Regions from separate parts of the Homo sapiens genome. Here region 1 is linked to region 2. Evidence: promoter capture Hi-C in 16 types of primary human blood cells and fetal thymus (Javierre and others, 2016). All regions are on one chromosome and are shown on one strand. The core of a region is centred on a gene start or on the middle of the fragment in contact, and the rest is flanking DNA. Distances in the headings are between cores, read along the strand shown.

Region 1 (3,570 bases), core at 703-3,202, 2.2 Mb before region 2:
AATTCCACGTAGGCCGTATTAGGCTGCAGATGAGCTGTTGGTAGGGATCCGTTGACCAGTAAATTAAGTGGATTAAAACCCTAGGCTTTCATGCAGGATTGATCGTAGTGGGATGTATTAGGAAGAAAGGAAGAGGCTAAGTTTTAATTTCTTATATATAATTAGGATGATGGCAGTGGGAATTCAAAAAGAAGGTAACTTTGAGGCATCTCAAATGTAGATTAGGCAAGACAGGCATGAGTCTGAAAAAGAGAGGCAATGAAAAGAGGAATGGTTTGAAGGTGAGATGCAGAAGCTTAATTTTAGGTGTGGTAAGTTTTAATAGCTGGTGACATGTCTTGGTAGAAGAGTCCAGCAAGAAATGTCATTATGGGTACTAATGCTTGAGAAAGATTGGTTATAGAGATGCAGATTTAGATTATTTCACCCAGAAAATGTAGTTGAAATTTAGGGAATGAGGTTTAGGGAAAGAGTGTGAAGAAAAAAGAAAAGGGAGGTGGGAGGAGACAGAGTGAAAGGGAAGAAGCCAGATCCTGAGTTTTCACTGAGAAGAGGATTTGAACAACACAGTGGTGGTCAACAGCAGTTATTGGAACTGTAGATTGTTGGTTTTGGGAACACCTGTCTAGGTTGTTAAGAGCCAGTGGAATAGGACATCCTGGAAATGAAGAAACATCAAAATCCAAGGAATCTGAGAGAATGGGAACAAAAAAACACATGTAGAGATTTATGGAAAACTTGAGACACAGGGGAAGAAGGATAAAAATAGAACTCAGATTTCTGGAGGTGGATGACATTTAACTTTAATAAGTAAAGGGCCCTGTCTCTACAAAAAATTAAAAAAAAAAATATTCCAGTGTGGTACGCACCTGTAGTCCTAGCTGCTCAGGAGGCTGAGGTAGGAGAACACTTGAAGCTTGGAGTTCTAGGTTACACTGAGTCATGATTATGCAACTGTACTACAACCTGGGCCACACAGCCAAGACCCCATCTCCAAAAAATAAAAAATAAAGGGAAGAACAGTAAGGTTTGACCTTTAGGGGAATGGATGTATTATGCACTGAGAGACCCTTTCTTCTCCAAAGAATGTTGATGTTCACTAACATTTGGGAAAAATTGTGTAACTCCCACTGGCACTGTGAAATTGTTTTTCTGTTTTTGTTGTTGTTGTTGTTGTTGTTGTTTTTTGGAGGGGAAGGAGGAAGGGTGTTGTTTGGTTTTTTGGTATTCCACCCTACTCTGTCACCCTATTTCTCCCACAAAATCTGTTCTAGAACCTAAATATATATTTGTTCTAGAGCCTAAATGAAATCTACCAGATAAGTGACATGATATATACTATGTAAGTTTCCATATATATTTTTCTTACTGAATATCAGTCACTTCATCGTTCATAAGCCCACTTTTCTTATACATCCTTTCTAGTCACCCTAGTAGTAGTCCTTCAGTCCTCATCTCTTCCCTTCTTTCTCCCCATGTTACAAGTTCGACTTACAACTGAGCCAGATAGATCCATCTTCCTCTACTTACCTAGTCCCCACTCTTATTTTCTTCACTCAGGAGTTGACTACATCTCATGCTTCGAAATTACACTTGAAAACTTTGTTTATTGATTTAAAAAGATAAAAAACTTTCATAGTACTTTTACTTCAGCAGATGGTTTTGACCAAGTACCAACAAGCTTTATGGCAAAATAGGTATTAAGGTGGCCTGTGGCAAATAATTAGATTATGGGCAATTAAGGTAATTAAGTGGTGATGTGGTATCCCATCAGGGTGTACAGTCATTTACCTCAAAAGAAGAAAACATCTCTATTGAGAATGCATATGCATATAAAAGCTCTGTATAACCTTTGCTGTGAAAAGTATATCCCATTTGTAAACCATTGGTGTTTTTTTCAGAATCGCCTACCATTTGGTGCAAGCAAAAAGCAATCAGCAATTGGACAGGTAAACTTGTTTTATTGTTTATATGTTACTCTGAACATTGAATGAAAATACCACTAATAGCTTGTTTTAAAACGTGCTATTTTTCACATAGAAAAATTCTATTGAAAAATATAACCACCTATTATAATGTATCAGATATCATAGTATATCACAGTATGTCATATCTAGTTCTTAGTTTATGTCATATTTCTTGTTAAGCCTAACATATTTTTTTGATTTGTAATTAAAGATAGTTTCTAAAATGGTGGGTAGAAAAAATACTTTAAAAGCTTTGTTTTTTAAAAAATATTCTACCAACTTTTAAAAAGTGTTTTAATCTTGTTTCTTCTGGCCAAATGAAAAGCATTTGATTTTGAATTTTAAGAGCAGAGAAAACTGACAACTTGAGGTTTATTAAAATAGACGAATAGCAAAGATACAGACTCCTATGTACCAGATACGTGCTCAGTGTACCATCTTTTGCAAAGTGGATATAGTCCTTTCTAAGTTTAAGAAAATCTGGTTTCCTTGTGGAATAATGGAGCAAATAAATTTTATTTGTTGGTCTCATATATATGTATTAATATATTAAAATTAGTATCTCTCTCTATAAGTTCATTATTTAAGATAGGATTGTTAACAGTAGCTAAAGTTAATATTCAGTAACTAATAACATCTCATGGGAGTTTATTGTTTAAGAATTAATCTTTTATAGATTAAAAGCATAAAACTGAGCAGATGGTAATTTCTTTGTGTACAGTTGTAATATCATAATTCTATAGAATCAGTTATCTTAAAGTGTCTTAAAAAATGAGTATTTAAAGAACCTCTAGAGAGTCAGGACAGCATAGCAGTTAAGAGTAGGGCTTCTGATGTCAGACTTCTGGGTTCAAATCCCAGTCTTCCAAAATAAAACTATTTGGGTTTATTGAAGAAATTAGAGATAAGATTGAAACTAATTTTTTAAAGTATTTTATAAAGACATTTCCAAAATTAGCTTTTTAAGATTATTGTTATACATCTTTGAAAGAGTAATCCTAAAGCTCCAGCTGATTAGCATGTAGTAGTGCATTTCTCTGAGAAGATCACCAGGGTGGTAATACCTGTTCCTGATATCTAAAGCTTTTTCTTCAATATGTAGGACTTACTGCCTTATATTCTAATACAGTGTTTCTAGGAATAGAAAGGGAATCTTTCTTTGAGAGGTACATGTCAGAATCAGTGTGGTTTCCCTTTGCTTAATAGGCATTTATGATAAAGATAGTTTTCCAACTTTTTTCCTGTATTTATCATTAAAAGCAATAAAATATGTCATTTTACATGTAAGTTTAAAATTATTTTTACATGAAAACAAAAGATTTGTTGGACAGAAAAGAAGTTAACAGGCTTGTTTTACTTATTGGTTTGTTTTAAAAGGAGAAATAAATGTTGATCTTAAAGTTTCATATCACTTTCTCTTAAAAATTCATGGGATGAGTAATTGGATCTGGTTTAGTGTCTAGAAAAATGTGTATCACACCGTAAGTGTTCAGTAATGTTACATATTATTATTACCAAAATCATTATCACATCTTTCTTCCATTTTAAAATCAACTATAATCAGTCATACCAATTCCTTGACTACTTTGTTGCAGTTGATAGG
Region 2 (3,406 bases), core at 678-3,177:
CTTCTGTCCTCCAGTTAAGGATGGATTGCAACCACTCCTCGTTAGAGAAGAGCCTAGCCCAGAGGAGCTCAGGCAGTTAACTGGAAACAGCTGCAACATCTGCCCGGCCGCCTCGCCCCTGCCCGTGGAAGGGCGAGGGGACCGCATGGCAGCAACTGCACTGCACAAAAGACAACACCTATCACCGGGAGCCACCGGCCTTCCATAGACCCCACAGCTCCCGGCCCTAGGGCATCCCCCGAGGAGGCAAGGGCCGGGGGCGAGCCCAGGTGCGGCGAGGGGGAGGAGGTTTCCGCCACGCGCCAGGGAAGAAAGCCTGACTCATGTCGTGGCAGCGGCAGCAGCCGCGGCGGCGGGCTCCTGGGAACTGAAACTCGTGATGCTGTTGCTGCGGAGAAAAGCCTCATTACCCATTCCGCAGGCGGGGGACACCACCCAAGGCGCGCACACCAAGCGCCGGCGCTCCCGCCGCCTCCGCCGGCCCTTCCGCGCCGCGCCCCCTCCTCTGCCGCGTGCCCGCGCGCGCCGGCCGCGAGTGTGAAAAGAGCGGACACACCTAACCTGGGCGCGCGGCAGGCGCGCACCCTGCCCGCCCCCACCGGGCCGAATCACGCAGTCCGACCCGGATTCGCTCCTTCGGCCGGAATTCCCCACCCCCACTATCCCCTCCGGCTCCACCACTCCCGGCTTCGGCGCCTCTGCCAGCCTTCGGTAATTTCCGTCGGGAGACCTGGCGCTCGCCTAGGCCCGAAGACCCGCCGCCTCCTGCCCCGCCAGACCCGGCTTTATGTCTGCGGCGCCGAGGCGCATGCGCAGACGCCATCTTCCCTCCTCCTCCTCCGCCTGCCCCCTCCCCCCAGCCACCACCGCCTCCTCTCGCCGGCGGTCGCCCCTCCTCCTCCTGCGCTCCGCGCTGGTCCCTCCCCTCCCGATGCCGCGAGAGACTGGGGGATACGGTGGAGCCGGGGGAGCCGAAGAAGAGCACTAGTAACAACCACCACAGCCCCCTCCCCGCCCGACACCCTCCCTCGGCACCCACTCACTCCCCCGCCCCGTTTGCCGACACCGACCAACCCCACCTCGTTCCTTTGAACGGCGTCGGCTGCAGTCGCTGCACCAGCCCGTCTGGCCACCAACGCCGCGGAGAAAGGAGCCGCCGCCGCCTGCGGCCCTCTCCCGCCCGGTCGCGGGAGCAGCGGGGTGAGGAAGAGCCGGCTGCGGAGGAAGAGGATAAGAGAGGGTCGCACCCTCCGCCCTAGCGCACGTCCCGCCGCCCTCCGGAGAGGCTCGGGTGCCGGCCCCTTCCTCCCCGAGGACGTGTGCCGAGTCGAGGCGCCTGCCCTGAGGGAGGAAAATGCTCGGGCTCCATGGCTGCCAGTGATGGAGCGGTCCCTGGGCTCCCGCTGCCACCGCCGCCGCCGCGCCCCGGCCGTGCTCCGCGAGGACCCGGCGTCTCTGCGCGCCCGCCCGCGCCTCGTTGCTGGGCTCACCGTACCGGGCGCCTCGCCGCCGCCCCGCTCGCAGCCGCGTCGCCCCGGCCCCAGCCGCGGCCAGCGTTTCCTCACCGAGCAGCCGCCGCGAGCCCAGGGGGTTTGAAAGGGTCTGCGGGGCGCGGGGGGAGGGCCGAGCGGGGCCGGGAGGGGAGGTTTGAGCGACACTGAGCTCGGGGCTCGCTGGCGGCGGCGGCGGCCCCGGGGGTGGCGAGGGGAAGGCGACATTTGCTTGGCGCTGCCTCCGTGCAGAGCGGCCGGGAGGGCTTTGCAGCGGCCGCCGACGCGGCGGGAGGAGGGGGCTGAGGCGGCTTCGGAGTTGGCCGGAGAAGGTGGGCATTTCTCGCTTTTCCTCCCCTTCCTGCGCTCTCCCCCTCCCTCCTGCCCCGCACCCCACGTGAAGCAGAATATAAAGGGGGGTGTGAGGCTAGAGGGGAAAGTGAATGGCGAAGGACTGAAGGGATCCCCCCTTCGGGTCCCCGGCCGCCCTGTTCACCCTCGTTCATCCTCCTTTCCGAAGCTCGCTCTCGAAGGCAGGAGCGACCGGCGCCTTTGGCTGAGGAGGAGGAGAAGGAGGAATCGCGCCAGGCGGAGCGTCAGGTCCCGTTTTCCTCTCCGGCGTCTCCAATACAAAGATTACGGTGCAGAAGGAAATTGCACTCGTCTCCTCCGCGCCCCCGGTACCCAACACAATGCACCAGCCGCCTGAGTCCACCGCCGCGGCCGCCGCCGCTGCAGACATTAGCGCTAGGAAGATGGCGCACCCGGCAATGTTCCCTCGAAGGGGCAGCGGTAGTGGCAGCGCCTCTGCTCTCAATGCAGCAGGTACCGGCGTCGGTAGTAATGCCACATCTTCCGAGGATTTTCCGCCTCCGTCGCTGCTTCAGCCGCCGCCCCCTGCAGCATCTTCTACGTCGGGACCACAGCCTCCGCCTCCACAAAGCCTGAACCTCCTTTCGCAGGCTCAGCTGCAGGCACAGCCTCTTGCGCCAGGCGGAACTCAAATGAAAAAGAAAAGTGGCTTCCAGATAACTAGCGTTACTCCTGCTCAGATCTCCGCTAGTATCAGCTCTAACAACAGTATAGCAGAGGACACTGAGAGCTATGATGATCTGGATGAATCTCACACGGAAGATCTCTCTTCTTCGGAGATCCTTGATGTGTCACTTTCCAGGGCTACTGACTTAGGGGAGCCCGAACGCAGCTCCTCAGAAGAGACCCTAAATAACTTCCAGGAAGCCGAGACACCTGGGGCAGTCTCTCCCAACCAGCCCCACCTTCCTCAGCCTCATTTGCCTCACCTTCCACAACAGAATGTTGTGATCAATGGGAATGCTCATCCACACCACCTCCATCACCACCATCAGATTCATCATGGGCACCACCTCCAACATGGTCACCACCATCCATCTCATGTTGCTGTGGCCAGTGCATCCATTACTGGTGGGCCACCCTCAAGCCCAGTATCTAGAAAACTCTCTACAACTGGAAGCTCTGACAGTATCACACCAGTTGCACCAACTTCTGCTGTATCATCCAGTGGTTCACCTGCATCTGTAATGACTAATATGCGTGCTCCAAGTACTACAGGTGGAATAGGTATAAATTCTGTTACTGGCACTAGTACAGTAAATAATGTTAACATTACTGCTGTGGGTAGTTTTAATCCTAATGTGACAAGCAGCATGCTTGGTAATGTTAATATAAGTACAAGCAATATTCCTAGTGCTGCTGGTGTGAGTGTTGGGCCTGGAGTTACCAGTGGTGTTAATGTGAATATCTTGAGTGGCATGGGCAATGGTACTATTTCTTCCTCTGCTGCTGTTAGCAGTGTTCCTAATGCAGCTGCAGGGATGACTGGGGGATCGGTTTCAAGTCAGCAGCAACAACCAACAGTTAACACTTCGAGGTTCAGA

The links. Contacts are between HindIII fragments. The CHiCAGO score rates a contact against its expected background, and 5 or more counts as called.
Region 1: a fragment that was not itself captured here is called in contact with the fragment with the promoter of TSC22D1 in region 2 in 1 of 17 cell types (non-activated CD4 T cells); the score reaches 5.6 in non-activated CD4 T cells.

The regions. Positions count from the first base shown.
Region 1 is chr13:46,791,776-46,795,345 of GRCh38, reverse strand. It overlaps ESD (esterase D), which reads left to right. Exons shown (of 10, transcript NM_001984.2): 2 at 1,902-1,949. Among named protein-coding and RNA genes, the nearest start is that of ESD, 3.6 kb to the left of the region's middle. The HindIII fragment of the contact is 537 bases long and covers 1,684-2,220 here.
Region 2 is chr13:44,574,851-44,578,256 of GRCh38, reverse strand. TSC22D1 (TSC22 domain family member 1) reads left to right here and starts at 1,927. Exons shown (of 3, transcript NM_183422.4): 1 at 1,927-3,406. The coding sequence starts at 2,183. It overlaps TSC22D1-AS1 (TSC22D1 antisense RNA 1), which reads right to left and starts at 2,361. Exons shown (of 3, transcript NR_038381.1): 1 at 1,987-2,361; 2 at 1,080-1,215; 3 at 1-155. RefSeq lists silencers at 235-284, 465-664, 935-1,174, 1,185-1,894 and an enhancer at 2,215-2,454. The HindIII fragment of the contact is 6,017 bases long and covers 1-3,406 here.